Linked DNA regions of Homo sapiens: region 1 is linked to region 2. The links are contacts of gene promoters, found by promoter capture Hi-C in blood cells and fetal thymus (Javierre and others, 2016). All regions are on one chromosome and are shown on one strand. The core of a region is centred on a gene start or on the middle of the fragment in contact, and the rest is flanking DNA. Distances in the headings are between cores, read along the strand shown.

Evidence for each region. The method cuts DNA at HindIII sites, captures the fragments that hold promoters and counts their contacts. A CHiCAGO score of 5 or more calls a contact.
Region 1: a contact is called between a fragment that was not itself captured here and the fragment with the promoter of FAM107B in region 2, in 2 of 17 cell types (naive B cells and total B cells). The highest score is 9.9, in naive B cells.

Annotation. Positions count from the first base shown.
Region 1 is chr10:14,634,683-14,638,726 of GRCh38, forward strand. All of the region lies in intron 2 of FAM107B (family with sequence similarity 107 member B), which reads right to left. Among named protein-coding and RNA genes, the nearest start is that of FAM107B, 140 kb to the right of the region's middle. The HindIII fragment of the contact is 714 bases long and covers 2,438-3,151 here.
Region 2 is chr10:14,773,590-14,777,989 of GRCh38, forward strand. It overlaps FAM107B (family with sequence similarity 107 member B), which reads right to left and starts at 1,308. Exons shown (of 5, transcript NM_031453.4): 1 at 664-1,308. The coding sequence starts at 1,074. The HindIII fragment of the contact is 2,997 bases long and covers 1-2,603 here.

The DNA.
Region 1 (4,044 bases), core at 1,545-4,044, 140 kb before region 2:
GAGGATGGCGTTAGCTGAGTTTCCCATTTTTGCAGCTTTTAGCCTGAAGTCAGATGATGCCATCACTGTGGGGGTGGAGATTTAGGCAGGGTATGTGTCTAACACTTGGATAGAAACCTCAGTCTTGGCCGGGTGCGGTGTCTCACGCCTATAATCCAGCACTTTAGGAGGCCGAGGCAGGCAGATCACTTGTGGTCAGGAGTTTGAGACCAGCCTGGCCAACATGGTGAAACCCCATCTCTACTAAAATACAAAAATTAGCCAGGCATGGTGGTGCATACCTGTAATCCCAGCTACTCGGCAGGCTGAGGTGGGAGAATCGCTTGAACCCCGGAGGCGGAGGCTGCAGTGAGCTGAGATTGCACCACTGCGATCCAGAGACTGGGCAAGAGAGAGAGAACCTATCTCCAAAAAAAAGAAAAGAAAAAAAAAAAGGAAAGAAGAAAGGAAGGAAGGGAGGGAGGGAGGGAGGGGAAGAAAAAGAAACAAACCTCAGTTTTTTTGGCCTGAAGAACTAGGGTAGGGGTCAGTCAGGGGCCATGGCAGCTGGAAGCGGAAGAGGAGAAATATGCAGAAGAAGAACAGGAGCAAGAAACCAGGAAGCCCTAAATTCTCCACAGGAACTCTGCCCAAATGCTTGGCTGATGCCTAAACTTTGCTTGCAACCATTAGACTTCGAACAGCCCACCTAAGGCTAAAAGAACTAAATGGAGATTTTAGCTATTGTTCACTACTTATTAAAACAAACAAACAAAGAATCAACACCCTCTGCCAGTGATCCTCCAGCGTGTGGTTGGGATATGGCAGGGATATCCCTTCTTGCACTGTAAGAGACAGCCCCATACCACGAAGTTCTGCTCTACTCAAAATGTCAGTTGCACACACAGTTAGTTCTGCTCTAAGGAGAGGTTTCAAACCTCCCTGGTTGGAACTTGGAATGTGTTTTTCTATTTTTTTTTCTTTTTTTGAGATGCAGTCTCGTTCTGTCACCCAGGCTGGAGTACAGTGGCGTGATCTCAGCTCACTGAAACCTCCACCTCCTGGGTTTAAGCAATTCTCCTGCCTCAGCCTCCCAAGTAGCTTGGATTACAGGCGCCTAACACGACGCCTGGCTAATTTTTGTATTTTTAGTAGAGGCGGGGTTTCACTATGTTGGCCAGGATGGTCTTGAACTCCTGACCTCAAGTGATCTGCCCGCCTCGGCCTCCCACCGCATTGAGATTACAGGCATGAGCCACCATGCCTGGCCAGAATGTGTTTTCCACTGAAATTCTGTGATAAATGATAGCTCCTGTGGAGCCAGGTGCACAATGAATTCAGTAGTCTTTACGCCAATCTACAAATAATACCATGACTTGTCTTATTGCTTCTATGAGAAAATGTGTTCCAAGTTTCAAACAACACACTTTGAAATTCCTGGAGCACAACTACTTCTTCGATGCTCCTTTGGCTTCAGGATTGGCTACCTTCACCAATCAATCTGAGCACCCCTCATCCCCATACACAATGGTGGCATCCTATGCCCAATCAGAATAGGATGGATATGCACTCAGGATTTTGCCATAGTGTGACTCTTATAAAAAGGAGCCAAAAAAAAAAAAAAAAAGCCAACAATTCCAGGATCATGTGAGAGAGAGAGCAAGTGAGAGAGAGAGAGAGAGAAATGTCTACTTCTATGTGCACATAAAACTAAATGTATACGTTCTGCCTGTTGTCTACATACCTCTAACTCTTTTTGGGGGTAGAGTATATGAACTATTTAATAACTCAACGTAATGATGTTACATTTTAGAATAAGAACCAAGGAATCAGATTTCAGTAGAAAAGCAAAGCACTGAACACTACATCTCTTGTGTGTCTAAATATTCTCTTTTTCTAAGGACATCAGTAATATTGGATTATGGCCCACTCTAACAGCCTGATTTTAACTTAATCACTTCTCTAAAGGTCCATCTCCAAACACAGTTACATGGCGAAGGAAGTACTGGGGTTAGGGCTCAACATATGAATTTTAGGGGGGGTGGGGGAGTGGGTATGAAGATAATTCAGCCCATAATGCATATTGCTGTCTACTGAGTCGAGTTCTTGGAGGTTGAATCCTGCTGCTATAGCCTTGAACTCCAAGTCATTATGGCTCAGCTCCTTGCAGAGTTTATAATTTGGAATTGCTTGAGTTGATGGCCCATGCAGCTTTATCTGCGGGTATCCTTCCAAAGGATTGTGGGCATATCTTTCCAAAGAGGTTGTCCATTTGTTTTTGCCAGATGTCCTGGAGGATTTACTGATCTAGGATGTTTTGTATGCTCATTTTTCAACTTAGGAAGTCATTATACTCTATAGGTAAACTTAAATCCCAAACCCATGCACTGTGTAAGCTGTGATCATGAATTCTCAGGGGAGACTTTGTTCCTACTCAGGGCTCATGCAGAGACAAACAAGCTTCATCGGTGTCTCCCTTTTAACAAGAGTGTCATTCCTCAAGGTCTCGGCTTCACGAGGGTCTTATTTCTAACACCATGCCCCTCCTAGCACCCAGGCCTTTCCCTGTGGCAGTCTGATTTTTGGGGTGGCCCCTATGATCCCTACCTCCTGGTGTTCATACCCTAGAATAATATCCTCCTCTTGAGTGTAGGCAGGACCTGTAACTTGACTCTAACCAATAGAATATGAGACCAGCTGCAGTGACTCACGCCACTAATCTCAGCCCTTTGGGAGGTTGAAGCAGGTGGATTACTTGAGCCCAGGAGTTCGAGACCAGCCTGGGCAATATGGCAAAACTTATCCCTACAAAAAATACAAAAATTAGCCAGGTGTGGTGGCTAACTTTTTATGGTGCTTGTAGTCCCAGCTACTTAGGAGGCTGAGGTCAGAGGATGGCTTTAGCCTGTGAGGCTGAGGCTGCAATGAGCTGTGATCATGCTACAGCACCCTAGCCCGGGCAACAGCAAGACCCTGTCTCAAAACAAACAAACACAGATGGCAAGGGTGACAGGATGGACATGATTCCAAGATGATTTTATTCATCTTGCTGGAGTCTCTCATTCCCTTCCTGGCTTTGACAAAGCAAGCTGACATGTTGGGGTGGTGTATATTAGGATGCCCATGTGGCACTAAGGGTGGCCTCCTGGCTGACAACCAGGAAAAAAACAGAAGCTTTCAATCTTACCTACACCTGCAAAGAACTGAATTCTTCCAACAAGAGTGGATTCCTCTCCAGTGGAGACCTCAGCCTAGCAGACACTTTGATTGCAGTCATTTGAGACCCCAAGCAGACAACCTAGCCACGCCATGCTTAGCCTCTTGACCCACAGAAACTGGAACATCATAAATATATGTTGTGCTTTTTGTCACTAAGTTTGTGGTAATATGTGGTAACATAGCCAAGGATAACTAATATACTCTCCCAACTCAGATGGTCACCAAACCCAAGGCCAAAGATTTCTAAGACCTGCCCCAAGAGCAGTGATAACAGTAATTTATAAAATTATTACTCTGGTTTTCAGTTTCTTCTTTGTTTTTGGTCCCTGGGAATTTCTATTATTTTCTTTAACAATTAGCTGTGGATTTACAGAAATCTTACGTTGTGTACAGCCTGCTAAGGTTTTTTTTTTTTCCCCTCTGTAAGCTGGATATGTTTCATGTTGTAAAGTCCTCCATATTGCTAGAAGTGGAAGATGCCTTAAAGGTTTCCAGTCAAAGTAGAAGCATTATGCTCCCTTCTCTTTGAATGAATTTTCTGTTCTCCAGAAAATCCACCTACTCCCAATGTTGGCATGCAGCCTTTAAGTTTGAGATTCAACTTTATCTCAAATGCTAACTTTTTCTCAAAATGCCAATCCACATTTTTAGCTGCCTCTTAGAAATAGTTTTCTTTTGGAGGTCTTATCTTGACATTAAGCACCTTACTTTCCAAAATGCCTGCTACCTATTTTTGCCTGCCTTTCAGGGGATTATTTCCTAATCATTTCCCAGTGCTCACCTTCACTCATCCCTTATCCAGTTAGTGACCAAGAGCTCTTTTTTATTCCTTACTATTCTCACATC
Region 2 (4,400 bases), core at 58-2,557:
AATTCACTGATGCCAAAAATGGAAAGAAAATAAGTAAATAACTCTTAAGAGCAGTGGCACCATTTTTTTTAAATAACTTCCTCCTCCTGCCTTCAACTCTCAGAAGATTATCACAAAAACATCCATATTATGAATAGTTTTATAGGTCAGTTCCCTTCCGTACCACTAGGCATACACTGATGATCATTTCCAAATTTTTCCAGACTGCTTTGATATCATGTGATTCATTTTAAGTAGAGGCAGTTTTGTGAATTCCCTAGCCAAACTTTTTAGATTGTGGATTTTCATATAAATAAATTGACAGACCGGTGGGGGTGGAGGGGGAAATAGAAAAAGGAAAAAAATGTTTTTGTAAACTATCTTACTCCTAATCTGTTATTGAGTGAGCCATTTTTGGCTCTAAGGCACCCTAGCCCGTTAATTCAAGGTTACCTTCGGTCATTGCCATGGCTCCAGTGCTTATTATCATTGCCTCATCCACATCTTTTGAGAACACTCTGAGAATCTACACGGCTTTAACACACTTCTTCGCACTAGTGAGAACGCCCGCAATGCCTTATTCAGTAAGGTTAAATGAGTTTGTTTGCTGAAACATTCGCCACATGATCCCAACGCTCCTCCAGCTCCATCCCGTCTATAATCGCAGAGCGAACACTCACTCACCTTGGGCGTGTCAATAATTGATGGTCTGGGGATGGAAGCGTGAAACACCACTGCTTCACAGTCCGCCCCATCATCCAGGGACCCGGGCACATCTTCAGGCGTCTCCGCGGGCTGGGCCGCAGTGCGGTGACTTGAATTCCGATTCGCACTGCCATTTCTCTCTGCATGGGTGCTCGAATCTTGCCTTTTCTCTGGAGCTCCTTCTGCGCTTGGGTGTCTTGGCTGTCTGCCTGCTTTGGCCACAGGCTGCACACGGACGGTGGAATGAGTATCAGCCACGCCGGACTGATTGAAGGAAGCACTCTCCCTCGTATTCCCAAAACAGGCGAGCAGAGCTGAGCACGGAAATGGATGCATGCTTCTAGAGGGAGACTTCAGTCTTTTGGTGAGTCTTGCTTTCCACGTGGACATGACTTGCAGTGAATCATTGCAAAGTTCAAACGGGGCAAGGAAATTTTCCAGGGGTCCACATCACCTCCACTTTGCTTATAGGAACTCTTTCCAATTGCCCGAAGAGAAGAACTTGCTAGTGGTTGCCCCTAAATAGAAGTTGGGATGGCAAGGCCACCTTCCCTGAGAGTCACTTAGCCGCTGGGGCCCCTTTGAAAGTGTCCATCCTGGGCAATTTCGCGCTCTTCCTTCTGTGATGCTGTCAGTGGCTAAAGAAAGCTGTTGGGGAGGCATGTGAGTGGCTCCGGTTACAGTTCCTAGGCAGGGCAGACGCTTCAGGGTAGGGTAGTGCCAAGTCAATAGACAATTGCTTCAGGTTACCTAGGAGGCATAAAGATAATGTAGCCTGATAGCATCTGCCATAATAGCGTCAGCCTGCGTATCAATAACATCATAACAGCAGCAAAACCTTCTTTGGTTACCCCCCTTCAAATATTTATTCCCCCAAACAAAACAAAAACGACCCAGTTGTCCATCACAAATGAAGACCCCTAGAAGGGCCACGACCCTAGCAGCTGTTTCATTATTAAAATAGGAGGTAGACTCAATCTTTCGCCTGGAGAGATGCGGTGTGATGTGTTTTCTGAATCTTTCTGGACTTTTCGGGATCTTTCCGGAATCTTCCCGGAATCTTCCCCCCACCCTCAAAACAAGTTTCCTGGTTTCAGGATCCACATTGCCTTTTCTGATAACTATAAATAGGTCTTTGGTAATTTGATTTTTTTTTTTTTACTAGCTAGGCTAAGTTCTTGATTAGTTTTCAACAATACCAAAAAGAAAAAAGAGAGCCCTACATTAACAATTATCCTTATGTATTATGTTATTATGTGTGGAGGTATTATGTACATGTGAAGTATTCTACCTATATGGTATATATCACCTACTTTCAGAAAGTAACTCCTTTTTGAACATAGATCTTCTGTTTCTCAACACATTAATATGTGAATGGTGAAAAATAATAAATTATAAACATATTCTAAGACAATTCAGAATCAAGATTTTTCCTTAGCCAACTGTCTGCTAGGAATGTTATAGAAATGTAATACTGTAATGCTTTTACCGTTAATAGTGATTTTAGGGTCAAGATTTCTGGGCATGTTACCCACTCTTAATTAATTTGTTTGCTCTCTCTTTTAATTTAATGTCAAGATGTGCTCTTTGGCCCAGACAGGTGGTAGTTATTATATTATGGCACTGATTCCCGTTTTACAGAGGCAGAAACCAATTCTTTGAAATTTCATGTGACTAAGGCAAGTTTATGCCACTAAGAAGGGCTTGTTGGGTGCCCGAGATCCCTGTTCTCCTATCTGTCCTCTGAGTCTCATTCTATCTAACAATCATTTTATAGATGTAATGGCCATACGGGAAATATTGTTCTAAATGGACAGTCATATTCATAATACAAAAAGGCAGATATGGCTTTAGAATGAGTGGATATGGCATCAAATGCACATTTTATTTTAGTCTCTACTGAAAGTTAGAATATAGAAAGCTTCCATTTATTTAGAGGTTACCGTGTGGCAGGCCCCGTGCTATCCAAGCTGTTTCTGGCTTCCCAGGGTTGTGAGCTCATTCTTTTTTCATTGTGTCCCAAGTGCAAGCTGTCCAAATTCCCCACCCATAAGAAATCAGGGGGTTCAGGTTTCTACCAGGGTCCCCCCTCCCAGATATTCCTGGAGACCCCTCGGAACTGCACTTTGTCTCCCATTTGACTTGGTTGCTACAGTCCACTCGGGTCGGGTCGTGCCATGCTGTGCCCCTCCAAGCACACGTATAGTAAATCGGGGCTGTGATGCTGCATAAGACATTTTTGAAGGCTTGGAGGTAACAGGAAGGGATTTAAGAAAAGAAAAATGCACTCTTACACCTGGTTTCATTCACTCATTCATATATTCATTCAATTATGTGTCAAGCCCCTTTTGGAACAGAGAGTCAGCAGTTCACAGTGCAGCTTGCGAGCGGCCACATTCAGGAGACCGCTGAGGAAGAAAGCTCAGAGCCACTTTCTAGGTCTGCGGAGGCCCTGGGCTTGCATCCGGGCTCTGAGGACCACCTCTCCTCGCTCAGTGGGTGTGCTCAGAGGCACGCATGAACTCATCGGAGTTCCAGCACTGGCCCGCTAAGAACAGTAGACTTTCTGATTAGTGTGTTGCTAAGTCTGACCTAGAATAACACTCAGTAACAGGCCATGGTTATTGAGTGTTTGGTATCAGACATGAATCTCAGCAAATTAACTCATTTAATCCTCACAACCCTAGAAGAAAGGTGATATTATTATTCCCATTTTTACTCATTAGAAAACCAAGACACAGAAACTTAAGTAACTTGCCCAAGGTCACAGCACTGCTTAAGGAAATGAGAAAAGGTGATGAGTCCAGCAACCTGGCCCCAGAGCTCATACTTTTCTCAGTATGCAATCCTGCTTTCCAAAAACACACATGCACGTGCACACACACAGATACATACTCCAGAGAGGACATTTCCAATGACCTTGATCCAACACTCTACCTCTAAGAAGTTATTTTGTAATGACGATCTTTAAAAAGTCAGGAAACAACAGATGCTGGAGAGGATGTGGAGAAATAGGAACACTTTTACACTGTTGGTGGGAGTGTAAATTAGTTCAACCATTGTGAAAGACAGTGTAGAGATTCCTCAAGGATCTAGAACTAGAAATACCATTTGACCCAGCCATCCCATTACTGGGTATATACCCAAAGGATTATAAATCATGCTACTATAAAGGCACATGCACACGTATGTTTATTGTGGCACTATTCACAATAGCAAAGACTTGGAACCAACCCATATGTCCACCAACAATAGACTGGATAAAGAAAATGTGGCACATATATACCATGGAATACTATGCAGCCATAAAAAAGGATGAGTTCATGTCCTTTACATGGACATGGGTAAAGCTGGAAACCATCATTCTCAGCAAAATATCACAAGGACAGAAAACCAAACACCGTATGCTCTCACTCATAAGTGGGAGTTGAACAATGAGAACACATGGACACAGGGAGGGGAACATCACATAGCAGGGCCTGTCAGGGGGTGGGGGCTGAGGGAGGGATAGCATCAGGAGAAATACCTAACGTAAATGACGAGCTGATGGGTGCAGCAAACCAACACGGCACATGTATACCTATGTAACAAACCTGCACGTTGTGCACATGTACCCTAGAACTTAAGGTATAATAATTTTTTTAAAAAAGAATTTATTCTGTAGATATACTTGTGCATAAATGTATGTCCCAGAATGTTCGCAGCACCAGAGTTTG